Linked DNA regions of Homo sapiens: region 2 is linked to region 1. Evidence: promoter capture Hi-C in human tissues and cell types (Jung and others, 2019). All regions are on one chromosome and are shown on one strand. The core of a region is centred on a gene start or on the middle of the fragment in contact, and the rest is flanking DNA. Distances in the headings are between cores, read along the strand shown. Region 1 holds the start of C9orf153 (chromosome 9 open reading frame 153). Region 2 overlaps AGTPBP1 (ATP/GTP binding carboxypeptidase 1).

What was found. Contacts are between HindIII fragments. The study calls those that stand out against the background at their distance.
Region 2: a fragment that was not itself captured here is called in contact with the fragment with the promoter of C9orf153 in region 1 in 1 of the 25 tissues and cell types used here (lymphoblastoid cells).

Annotation. Positions count from the first base shown.
Region 1 is chr9:86,258,407-86,265,005 of GRCh38, forward strand. It overlaps C9orf153 (chromosome 9 open reading frame 153), which reads right to left and starts at 1,251. Exons shown (of 4, transcript NM_001276366.4): 1 at 1,144-1,251. It overlaps ISCA1 (iron-sulfur cluster assembly 1), which reads right to left. Exons shown (of 4, transcript NM_030940.4): 4 at 6,140-6,599. It also overlaps the pseudogene RN7SKP264. The HindIII fragment of the contact is 6,872 bases long and covers 1-4,820 here.
Region 2 is chr9:85,728,399-85,734,537 of GRCh38, forward strand. The region is part of intron 1 of AGTPBP1 (ATP/GTP binding carboxypeptidase 1); the gene reads right to left. Among named protein-coding and RNA genes, the nearest start is that of AGTPBP1, 10 kb to the right of the region's middle. The HindIII fragment of the contact is 5,941 bases long and covers 691-6,139 here.

The DNA.
Region 1 (6,599 bases), core at 1-2,500:
TTGAAGTAATTACTTTTAGAGAGCTTGTTTGGAGGTTCTAGCAGGGGAGTGCAGCTACTCATATACCCTTGCCCAAAGAACGGCCCTCCTCTGTTGGGGAAGGTTGTCCGCAGCGTCTGGAAGGACGCATGTGGACGGATGAGGGAGGAAGGAGACATCCACCTAGCCAGCCAGATCAGACAAATTAACCCTGGCCATCAGTGGGGTGACAGATGTTGCAGCCAGATCACCCTCACATCCGGAAATAATTGCTTTTAAAACGCAATATTTGAAAACCTGAATTTTCTTGGGTAAGCAACTATTATATTGCTAATTTAACGAAACTTTTTTTAAAAATATTAATATACTTAAATTTTAGAGCAATTTTAGAATTGGTTAGAAAGTACAATGTTCCCACAACCCCCCTTCTCTGCACCATACACACAGCTTTCCCCTTTTTTTTTTACTACTTATGTTTGTGTGGTACGTTTGTTATACTTGATGAGCCGGTATCAATGCATGGTTACTAACTAAAGCCCATACTTCACAGTTTACATTACGGTCCATTCTTGGTGTTGTGCATTCTATGAGATTTCACAATGTGCAATTACATATATCCACTTTGATAGTATCATACAGAGCAGTGTTTTTTTTTTTTCTTTGAGATAGGCTCTCATTCTGTCACCCCAGCTGGAGTGCAGTGGCGTGAACACAGGTCACTGCAGCCTCAACCTCCCAGGCTCAGGTGATCCTCCCATCAGCCTCCCAAGTGGCAGAGGAAAAACAAAGGACACTGGGTGTGAGGGAGAGGTGCAAAGTCAGGACCAAGCATCCATGGGAACACAGGGGAGGATGAAGGCACTGAGGTTGGGGAGAGAGAGCAGAGCTATCAGTGTTGAAGGCCGGAAAGGATGAGGGAGTCTGCAGGCTCGGCCCGATCAACTGGTTCCAGCTTCTGTGACCTGCCTGGAGGAAGATGAAACAGGCTCCTCATCCTTATTGGTAAAGATAAACCCAAATCCCATCTCACCTCCCAGCTCTGGTCTTCCCACCTTAGCCACTGCCCACCTCACTCCATCTCTCCTTGCCAAGCCTAGACTGGCTTAGTTTTCACTGCTCTGTGGTCTCACAGTGCCCCGTGGCTATGGCTGTAGATGCACTTACCACTTGTTTTACAGTTGTCTCTTCACGTGGTCATATCTGTCTTGAGTCTCTGCACTCCCAGGGCAGAGGCTGGGTCTCATTCATCCAGCAGCCCCAAGGCCCAGCCCCACTCCTAGCATGTGTCATTGCTTAGTGTTAAGTGACTGTCCATTGTGACATGTGGACATTCTCAAGGTCACATAAGCAGCTATATGATGCTAAGCGATGGGGAATTATCTTGCTGCTTGGTGGGGGGTGGGAGACGGTGGAGGATGATGGAAAAGCATTTTTAAAGAGTGAACATTGAGTAGCTGAGTAGCTACTTTTTTTTCTGCCTCAGCTTGTGGCTGGGACCCCGGGCGCACGCCACCACGCCTGGCTAATTTATGTATTTTTCTCTAGAGATGGGGTTTCGCCATGTTGCCCAGGCTGGCGTGAGTATAATTTTTTTTTTTTTTTGAGATGGAGTCTCACTCTGTCGCCCAGGCTGGAGTGCAGTGGCACGATCTCAGCTCACTGCAAGCTCCGCCTCCCGGGTTCACGCCATTCTCCTGCCTCAGCCTCTTGAGTAGCTGGGACTACAGGTGCCGTGAATGTAATTTTTAATCAGTCAAGTTTTTCCTTCTATAGACATGGGCAAAGTGCAAATAAGAAATTGAGAGAGATAATAGAAGGTACAGCTATGCTCTTTGCACCTGGCCAGATATGGGTAGAAGTGGACCAGGGGCTACCTGGCTGTGCAAATTCTCTCCATGAGCCATGCAGCCGTGCTCCAGACTCCATTCCCCACCCATGGGAGGTCCCTGTGGCAATCACTGAAAATTTTCCTGAAACAGCCATTTCCCCAGAATGCAATCTACTGGGCATTTAAATAGTCTGATTGAGTTAATAACTTGTGAACACCGTGGCAACATATCCATAACATGAAGCTTACCGTGTTAAGCCGTTTTAGGTACACAGTTCTGTGGCATTCAGTACATTCACATTGTTGTGCCACCTGCACTGCCTTCCATCTCCAGAGCTTTTTCATCTTTTCCACCTGAATCTGTGTCCATGAAATAAATTTCTCACCCCCTGTCCCCTGTCAATGGACACCTGGGTTGTTCCTACCTTTTGGCTATTGTGAATAATGCTGTTATGAACATGGATATACAAGAAAGTTAATAATTTTAAGCAGAATTTAATAAATACAGAAGATTCTTCCAATGAGAAAATATTTCAAAAGCCTGCCATTCAAAGGTGTTCTGCAGAGCAACAGCACTGGCTTCACTTGGGCCTTTGCTACTAATGCAGAATCTCAGGCTCTGCCCTGGACCTTTGTTACAGAATCTGCTTTTTTTTTTTTTTTGAGACAGTTTTGCTCTGTCACCCAGGCTGGAATGCAGTGGTGCCATCTCATGTCACTGCAACCTCCCCACCTCCCAGGTTCAAGTGATTCTCCTGCCTCAGCCTCCTGAGTAGCTGGGACTAGAGGCGCCCACCACTATGTCTGGCTAATTTTTGTGTATTTTTAGTAGAGATGGGGTTTCACCATGTTGGCCAGGCTGGTCTCGAACTCCTGACCTCAAGTGATCCACTCGCCTCAGCCTCCCAAAGTGCTGGATTACAGGCGTGAGCTACCTACTGCGCCCGGCCAAGAATCTGCTTTTTAACAAGACCCCCAGGTGACTTATTTGCACCTTAAAGTTTGAGGACTGCTTCAAGACATAGAATCCATGGAGAACAAAAAATGAGTACTTTATTTTTTATTCTTTTTTTTTTTGAGACAGGGTCTTGCTCTGTCATCCAGGCTGGAGTGCAGTAGTACGATCTTGGCTCACTGCAACCTCTACCTCCTGGGCTAAAGTGATCCTCTCACCTTGGTCTCCTGAGCAACGGGGACTACAGGCATGTACCACCATGACCAGCTAATTTTTGTATTTTTTGTAGAGACGGCGTTTTACCACGTTGCCCAGGCTGGTCTTGAACTCCTGGGATCAGGTGATCTGCCCACTTTTGCCTCCCAAAGTGCTGGGATTACAGGCTTGAGCCAACACACCTGGCCCAATAAATGGGCACTTCATCATGAAAAGTTTCGGAATCACTAGCTAGTGGAAGTAAAAGCAGTAACCCATCAAGGCCCTCAAAGTAGGCTAGTTTTAAGCTGAGTACCGCTGGTACAGAGCCCTTGCCCCGCTAAAGGTTGGTGTGAAATGAAGCCTTCCCTGAACACTGCACAGCAGCAAGGGAGGATGGGAGTCCACAGTGATGTAACCACCACATGGCTCTGTATTTCAATAGAGGCTGAGGCTAGGGTGCACCTCCCTCTCTCCTCCATCTCTTGTCTGATGAGACCCACCTGGGACCAGGAGATTGAGTTCCTACTGGGGAATGAGCTTTCAAAACAGCTCCTCAATTAAGGCAGGTTTGTCTATAGTTAATCAGCTACTAAGAGAATGAAATTTCTCCGAATGTTTATATTTGAAATTTATGGTTCTTTTCAAAGAAGTTACTGTGGTCTTTTATTTGAAGGAAATACAGCAAATTTCCCCCAGATTTGAATATGGGACAATAACTCCCTAAATGTGTTGAAACTCTTTCCCTAAGCTCTTGCTTTGATTGATAATCCATTAACATATTATCCCTTTTTGCACAAGAAAATGGCTAAAAGGGACAAGAATTACAACGTATGAAACGTCTACCCTTAGCAGGATGCCATTTATGTGTAGTTAGCTCATCACATCCCCCCAAATTCTGAGACTGTTTTACAGAAGGTTACATGGCTACAAAATGACAGGAACCATGATTCAAATCCAGGCATATCTCACCCCAAACCTACACCTTTCCAGGCCAGCCTCCCAGCCTGCACTGAGCTCAGGTGAGCTGTATTTGGGTTTATTCTGGGTCGATGCTGTGTCTGGCCCATGCCACGTCTGCTCTAAGGCTCAAATGAGACACTGATGTTGCTTACAGCTCAGCTTAGCACAGGCTTTTCCATTTCCTGATTTCTCAGGTATCAAAACATGACAAGAAAGGCCATTTTTTTTTTGAGGTATTTCCTGCTGAGTGAAACCTAGGAAATACTGGAAATCTTAGGGACATCTGATCTTGTAGGGATTGTTCCCAACCCTTTCCTGTTTGAGAAAAAAAAAATCATTCTGGTGGGTCCGGTGACAGAGGGCTGGGAGGCGCCCTGCAACAATGAAGCACAGCAGGCCTCTGTCCTCATGGCCTGATTCATTCAATTTAGCATCCTGATGTGGAAGAGTGGGCTTATAACTGATCATGAAAAGCCTGAAGTCTGCTGCTAAGCGACAGATCTGCTGGCCTACACATCACCCAGGGGCACTACCAAATCGCCTAACACAATGACCAGTGTTTGTGAGTAGAATGTGGATGAATGTGGTGCAACAGACAGAACCTTCCTGGTGAGGGCTAAGGCTTGCATGACATGGTGTGACATGGCCGTAGGATGGAGCCATTTTGCAAAAATAATTCTGACCTGCCCGATGCTAAACGAACACTGAAGAAGCAATTGCGTTCCTGTCTCCAAGATCCTTTCAATATTGTACAAGAGACAAGAACCAAAACCAATGAACAGTACAAGTACTGCCTGTACAAATAGAAATGAGTCACAGAACACTGGCTGATGAGGTTGGGCTACGGATAGAGTACCATCCTTTCTGCCTCCTAAGCCTTTCTCTCACGGGTCCCTGCTCAGGTCCTATTATAGCGGGCTTTGCAGTAGCTTCTTCCTGTCCTCATCAGCCAGCCTAGTCCAGGCCATGGAAACACTTCCAAATGCAATTTTCTAATGAGTGCCCCTAAACACTTTCAGTGGCCCCAAGGCCTACAGAACTTGCAGAAAGCCCAAACGCCCCAGGCATCTACCTTGCCCTCCAGCCTTACTGCTCCTCTCCGGGCCTCATTCTCCGGAGTGCTTAGCTTCACTGTGTTTTTATTATTACTTTTTATTATACTTTAAGTTCTAGGGTACATGTGCACAACGTGCAGGTTTGTTACTTATGTATACATGTGCCGTGTTGGTGTGCTGCACCCATTAACTCGTCATTTACATTAGGTATATCTCCTAATGCTATCCCTCCCCCACGACAGGCCCTGGTGTGTGATGTTCCCTGCCCTGTGTCCAAGTGTTCTCATTGTTCAATTCCCACCTATGAGTGAGAACACGCCCTCTGTGTTTTTTCAACCCTCTTTAGTACTGTTCACTGTCTTCCCTCTTCCCCAAATCTCTTTCAACTAGGCGCAGGGGTCATAACCTGTAGGCTACCTTTTTAGAAGCGCACTCCGTTGGTTCTATCAGGACACGCAGTATGGCCTAACAGCTGGGAGCACAGCATCTGGAGCCATAGACACAGGGTACGATTCTGACTTGGCCACCTTAGCTATTTTATTTAAGCTGTGTTTTGGTTTATCTATGAAAAAGACAGTAGTCAGACCTGCATTCTCGATTGCTGAGATGATGTTTATTAGAACACTTCCTGGCATGCAGTGAGCATGCCATCACCACCAGCTGCTCACAACACTTACCATGGTGATCGATGCTCTTCGCTGGTGTCTCATTTGCCGACTTGAAGCTCTCTGAGGTTGGGACTGTCTTTGATGACCTGTGAAAGCTCAGGGCTAGTGGAGAGTCAGTGCTCACTACTGTGCCTGAGTGAACAGCTGAGAACCTTCTTGGAGGAGGTTCACATAAAAGCTCAGATGACAGAGGGAAAAGCACTCCAGGTAGTGATAATGCTCTCGTCCTAAGGACATGAGGAACCTGCTTGGGGGATGGATGACCCTCATGGGGAACAAGGAGGAAAAAGAGGCTAGCAAAGCCAGGGAGATGAGAGACACCTGAGATGGTCTCTCCAGGGCTGTGTGGAGAATCAGCAGCTAGGACTCTGGACGAAACAGTGTCAGGTAGGGAGGACGCCTGGTGACAGGCAGCCTAGGCAAAAAAGACAGTCATTTTTTTATTGGCTTTAGCAGCTGCTGTCCCAAACCCTCTCCCCTCAATAATAAAAGGCAATTTTATGATCACAAAGAGGCCACATTTTTTTTAATTGACAACTCAATCTCTACATACATACAGTGTTGCACGAATTATAAGTGGATCAACAATTATATTATTGATACAAACTCATGAGCATTTACATAAAACTACCGCTCTAGGTTTTGGTGTGTTTTGTGTCAGCTACTTTAGTGAATAAACGAAACATAAAGGAACTCAGCTACTTGAATTCATGAGAATCAGCTTTCAAAAAAAGCATATATATCATCTCATAGAATACTTATGTCAAACCCAGGAAAATCAGTAACTAAGTGACAAAAGGAACACTTTTAAAGAAAAGTTGGTGATAAATATGTTAGGCTAAAATACTAAGAACTTTAGCAACTGGACCGAGGAACCAGAAAATGTATGCACACTGGGAATTTTAACAAAAGATTACACATTCTCCTGTACAGTGAGGACCACATTCCAAAAGCAT
Region 2 (6,139 bases), core at 2,411-4,910, 530 kb before region 1:
ATACACTCGAGATGAGATTTACTGATCTACCCCTAAAAAAGTTATGGATTTCCCTGAACCAGTAATGTCCTGCCAATCATAGGAAAGTAATGAACATTTAGCTGCAAGTTTTCAACTTCTTAAGTTTTTTCTTACTTAACAAGCACCTACAGCAAGGAGGAACTGTCTCATGTCAGATAAAAATGAAAACTGTGAATGCTTATTTCAAATTAAACAAAACAAAAACAGGTTTCATGTGAACAAGATGAACTTCTTTTAGTTTTAAAAGGCAATTTTATTGTATATGTTAAAGCCTACAAAAGATGAAAAAAATCAAAACACATACAAATATTTTGTTAACTTGTGGACTTATATTTCAGCCTCACCTTGCCAATCAGAAAAAAAAAAAAAGTTGGCTTATTTCAAAATCTTACATAAATTATGACTTGGACTATATTTTTATTAGTATTACCTTGGCTTATGGTTTTTAATAGCTTTGCTATTTGATATTGTCAATAATTTTCATGGTATATTAGGTGCAAAAGTAATCACAGTTATTGCCATCACTTTTAATGTTAATTGTACTTTTAATTAAAAGTAATGGCAAAAACTGTGATTACTTTCACACCAACCTAAATAAATAACATTAATTAAAATCAGCTAGTAGTAGCATAAAGACAGACATACAGACCAATGGAATGAAAGTCCAGAAATAAACTCATATATCTATGGCCAATCGATTTTTGACATGCATGTCAAGTCCATTCAGTTGGAAAAAATAGTCTCTTCAACAAATGGTGCTGGAACAACTTGATATCCACATGCCAAAGAATGAAGCAGCATTACTCACAACAGTCAGAAGATGAAAACCACCCAAGTGCCCACCAATAGATGAATGAACAATACATGGTAGAAACATACAATGGAATACTATTCAGCCATAAAAAGCAATGAAGTTCAATATACGCTACAACATAAATGAACCTTGAAAACATTACACTAACTGAATTAAAGACCTAAATGTAAGACCTAAACCATAAAACTCTTAGAAGAAAACACAGTGAACAAGTTGCTCAGCACTGGTCTTGGCAATTTTTTGCATAGGATCTAAAGTATGGGCAACAAAAACAAAAACAAATGGGACTACTACGTCAAACTAAAAAGTTCTGCACACCAAAGGAAATAACAAATGAAAGACAGCCTATAGGTTCGGAGAAAGTATGTGCCAGCCATACATCTAGATATATAGCTTATCTCAAGATACAAGGGGTTAATATCTTAAATACATAAGAAACACAACTCAATAGCAAAAAAAAAAAGAATGACCCAATTAAAAAATCAGCAAAAGACCTGAATACTCTTCCAAAGAATATATTAAAATAGCCAACAGGTATATAAAAAGTTGCTCCACATCACTTATCAGAGAAATGGAATTCAAGACCACAGTGAAATATCATCACCTCACACCTGTTAGGATGGCTATTATCAAAAAGACAAGAGACCTAAAAGTTATTTCACAGCTCCTCCAGGGTATAAAGATTTAGAAAAGTTGGGGCAGTCACTAGCAGGCAGCTGGTGCACACCAGAACAGGCCCAACATGGTTCTACAGCTAGTAAGGATAGTCTGAGGTTCCTGATTACCAGAGCCTCCTGACCTCAACTGTTTCCAGATTCTGAAACAGCAGTGTGGTTCCAGAAATGAAGCTCTAGAAGCAATTTCACAATTAGACCAGAGGTTTCCTAATCATAAAAGAGGTAACTCTCTTGGTTTCCCAGTTCTGTGGTAAGATGTGAGAGTTGTTCCTTAAAGCTCAACCTATGTCTCTTTCTTCAGATCTCTCAACTTAATTCCTCCTAAGTAAGCCACTTAATGCCTGTGCCAGATATTGATTTATTGCCCCTCATCTCCCAATTCGCCCTTTTTGTCTGCTCTGTGAAAATGAATTTGTGTCCTTTAAATATCTTTTTTATCTGCCAGCTGACATGACATTAAGCTGTGTCAGTAGACGGCTCTGGAAAAGCATTGCAAGGGAAAAGAATTGGGCTTCCTAGTTCCAGGGCATTCACTTGGCTCCAGTAGGCAAGGCTTTTCCAGGGACCCACTCCTTCAACAAGGATGGTTCTTCTACCACCAGGCTCCTCAGTGTGTGCTGCTTTTCCAATAAGAGCCTAGGTAGTTTTGTAGTAGAGGTCTCTGATGAGATACCTCTTCATAAACAGCATTCCCTGGTACCCTAAGGGGTAAATTTCCAGCAAATGCCACTAGTGCTGTACCATAGCTTGAACTTGCCCTTTGACATAGCCTTGAACGTGCCCTTTCCAATAAGATCTAAGTTCATCTGGAAGATGGAAACGCACTCTATCTTAGTCCTGGGATAGTCACTGCTCCTTATATCTGCTATTCCTATATTCTTTAGCATTATCTTTACTTCTCACTGGTAAATCTCTTATTACTCCAATCCCCTGTTACAGTCAATAATTCCTTATATTATTCTTTCCCTGTTAAATTACTATGTGGTTTCTATCTCCTGATTGAACCCATACTGATACATTCCAACAATTCTTTAAACTATTTAGCAGCCTATGGTAAACCTTCTCTTTGCTTAAGGGAAAGTAGTTCTTTCTCTACAAGTGTGTCTTTACTGTTTTATTTTTAAATGAAGGATTTGGGCCATGGAGTAGGAGAGGAATCGTACAATATCCTCAGAAATGAAATGAAGTTGTGACATCAACTTTTTTAAATTAGGAAGTGATACTAATCATGCATAGCCAGGGTCAAGAACCATTCCTAGGTCAGCCTATTCAATATTTTAATTGGAACATTAACTTCATCTTAAAGTACTATCACTCCTGTTATGCCTAACTGCTATTTTGAAACTTAGCCTACTATGAGATACCACTTCACAACCAATAGAATGGCTAAACTTTAAAAAGACAGATAATAACAAGTGTTAGCAAGGATGTGGGAAACTGGAACCCTCACACATTGCTGACAGGAATGTACAATGGTGCAATTACTTTGGAAGTAGTTTGGCAGGGTTTTTTTTTTCGGGGAGGGAAGTGTTTTGGTTTTTTTGTGTGTGTTTGTTTGTTTGTTTTTGAGACACGGTCTTGCTCTGTCACCCAGGCTACAGTACAGTGGCACAAACAAGGCTCACGGCAGCCTCAAACTCCTGGGCTCAAGTAATCCTTCTGCCTCAGCTGGGACCACAGGTGCACACCACCAGCCACCTAATTGTTTTTTCCATTCTTTGTAGAGACCGGGTCTTGTCATATTGCCCAGGCTGGTCTCAAATTCATGGGCTCAAGCAATTCTTCCACCTTGGCCTCCCAAAGTACTGAGATTACAGGCATGAGCCACCAAGCCCAGCCCAATGATTATGTTATATTTTAGTCCAATCTTCAAACAGGAAAATTGATTTCACCTATTTTATTGTCATTAATTTTATCAAAAAGTATGGGTAAGAGTAAATCTACAAAAAGCTTATGTATCTTTCCTGATCATGCATTCTTATCAAAACCAAACAAATCTGTAAGGTTCACACACTACTCCACAAAAAATGTTCAGATACTTATAAAAAGTCTAATTAGTTTTGCTTTGTGACATTTCCATTTTACTATCAATAAATGAGGTAGGTTTGAAGAGCAGAATCTCATTACCCTTCAACTATTAAATGATTTGTTTAAAATAACTCTTCCTCCAACTCAGATTTCAACTATTTTCAGACTTAAACAAAGCCAAAATTTCTAAGTCTATACAGATGATAAATGAGATTTAAAATCTTACCTTGAAACACACATTTTTCTCTGCCTCTAACCTATGACTATGACCCTTTTTTTTTTTTTTTTTTTTTTGAGACAGAGTCTTGCTCTGTCGCCCAGGCTGGAGTGCAGCGGCGTGATTTCAGCTCACTGCTAGCTCCACCTCCTGGGTTCCGGCCATTCTCCTGCCTCAGTTTCCCAAGTAGCTGGGACTACAGGCGCCCACCACCAGGCTCGGCTAATTTTTTGTATTTTTAGTAGAGACGGGGTTTTACCATGTTAGCCAGGACGGGACTATGAAGAAACCACTATAACTCAAATAGTGGTTTGGGTTTTTTTGAAGAAACCACTTTATGAAGAAAACCACTATAACCCAAAGTCAGCTCCAGCTAATATCCCAATATAAATCAAAATATATAAAATATGAGGAATAAAAACAGCTAATATGGCATATAAAAAACAAAGAACAGAAATAAGTAATTTACTTTAGGAAGTAATTACTTTAAATGTAAAGGGATTAAATTTGCCAATCAAAACACAAAGACTGGCAGAATAGATTTTTTTAAATGATCCAACTGTATGTTGTCTGCAGGAGACTTACTTTAGATCCCATTGCACAAATACATGGAACGTGAAAGAATGGAAGAAGATATTCCATGCAAATAGTAACCAAAAGAGAGCAGGAAGGGCTATACTAGTATCAGACAAAACAGACTCTGAATCAAATAAGTTTACAAGAGAAAAAGTATATTATATATTAATAAAAAGTTCAACAGAGCAAGAAGATAAAACAATTATAAACATTTACACACCAACAAAATATATGAAGTAGTTACAGATCATCAAAATACGAGGTAAAAATTAACATAATTATGGGGAGAAATACTTCTATAATAAAAGGTGGATACTTAATACACCATTCTCAATGAGGAAAAGAACAACCAGAAAGAAGTGAAGAGAGAGATGATTTGAACAACACAATGAATCAACTAGATCTAACATATATTTAGAACAAGGTACTCAACAACAGAATATAAATTCCTCTCAAGTGCACACAGAACATTCTCCAAAACAGGCCACATATTAGGATACAAATTAAGTCTCAATTGCTTTTAAAAGATATTTATCATACAAAGTGTGCTCTCCAACCTCACAACAGGATTAAGTTAGAAATCAATCTGAGAAAGAAAACTGGAAAATACACAAATTTATGGAAATTAAACAACGTACTCTTAACCAATGAATCAAAGAAGAAATCACTGGGTTAACCAGAAAATAGACACAAATGAAAGCAAAGACATGACATACCAAAACTTACAGGATATAGCAAAAGCAGTGCTGAGGAGAAAATCTATAGACATAAACACATTAAAAAGGAAGACAGATCTCAAAACAACCTATCTTTACAACTAAGGAACTACAAAAAGAAGAACTAAACCCAAAGTGAGCAGAAGGAAGAAAATAAAAAAGACCAGAGGAGAAATAATTAAAATAGAGACTAGAAAAACAATAAAGAAATCAACAAAACCAAAAGTTGGTGCTTTGAAAAGATTAACAAAACTGACAAACCTTTAGCAAGATTTAAAAGAGAGAGGACTCAAATTACTAAAATCAGAAATGAAAGGGGAGACATTCATGACCAATTCCACAAAACCAAAAAGGATTATAACAGAGTACTGTGAACAACAGTACACCAACAAATTGGATAACCTAGATGAGATAAATTCCTAGAAACACAAAACCTACCAAGCCTGAACCACAAAGGAATAGAAAATCTAAATAGACCCATAACTATTGAGGAGATGTAATCAGTAATTAAAAACCTCCTTACAGGCTGGGCACGGTGGCTCACGCCTGTAATCCCAGCACTTTGGGAGGCCAAGGTGGGCGGATCACAAGGTCAAGAGATCGAGACCAGCCTGGCCAACATGGTGAAACCCTGTCTCTACTAAAAATACAAAAAATTAGCTGGGCGTGGTGGCGCGTGTCTGTAGTCCCAGCTACTCAGGACGCTGAGGCAGAAGGATCGCTTGAACCCAGGAGGCAGAGGTTGCAGTGAGCCAAGATGGCACCACTGCACTCCAGCCTGGCGACAAAGAGAGACTCCGTCTGAAACAAACAAACAAAAAAACCTCCTTACAAAGCAAAGCCCTGAATCTGATGGCTTCACTGGTAAATTCTACAAAATACTTAAAAAAAAAAAAGTCCAGTTCTTTTCAACTCTTCCAGAAAAGTGAAGAAGGAACGCTTCCTACCTCATTCTATAAGGCCAGTACAGCCCTGATACCAAAGTCAGACAGATGTTACAAGAAAATGACAGACCAGTATTCTTTATGACCATTAATGCAAAACTCTTCAACAAAATACTAGGAAACCAAATACAGCAACATGAAGGCAA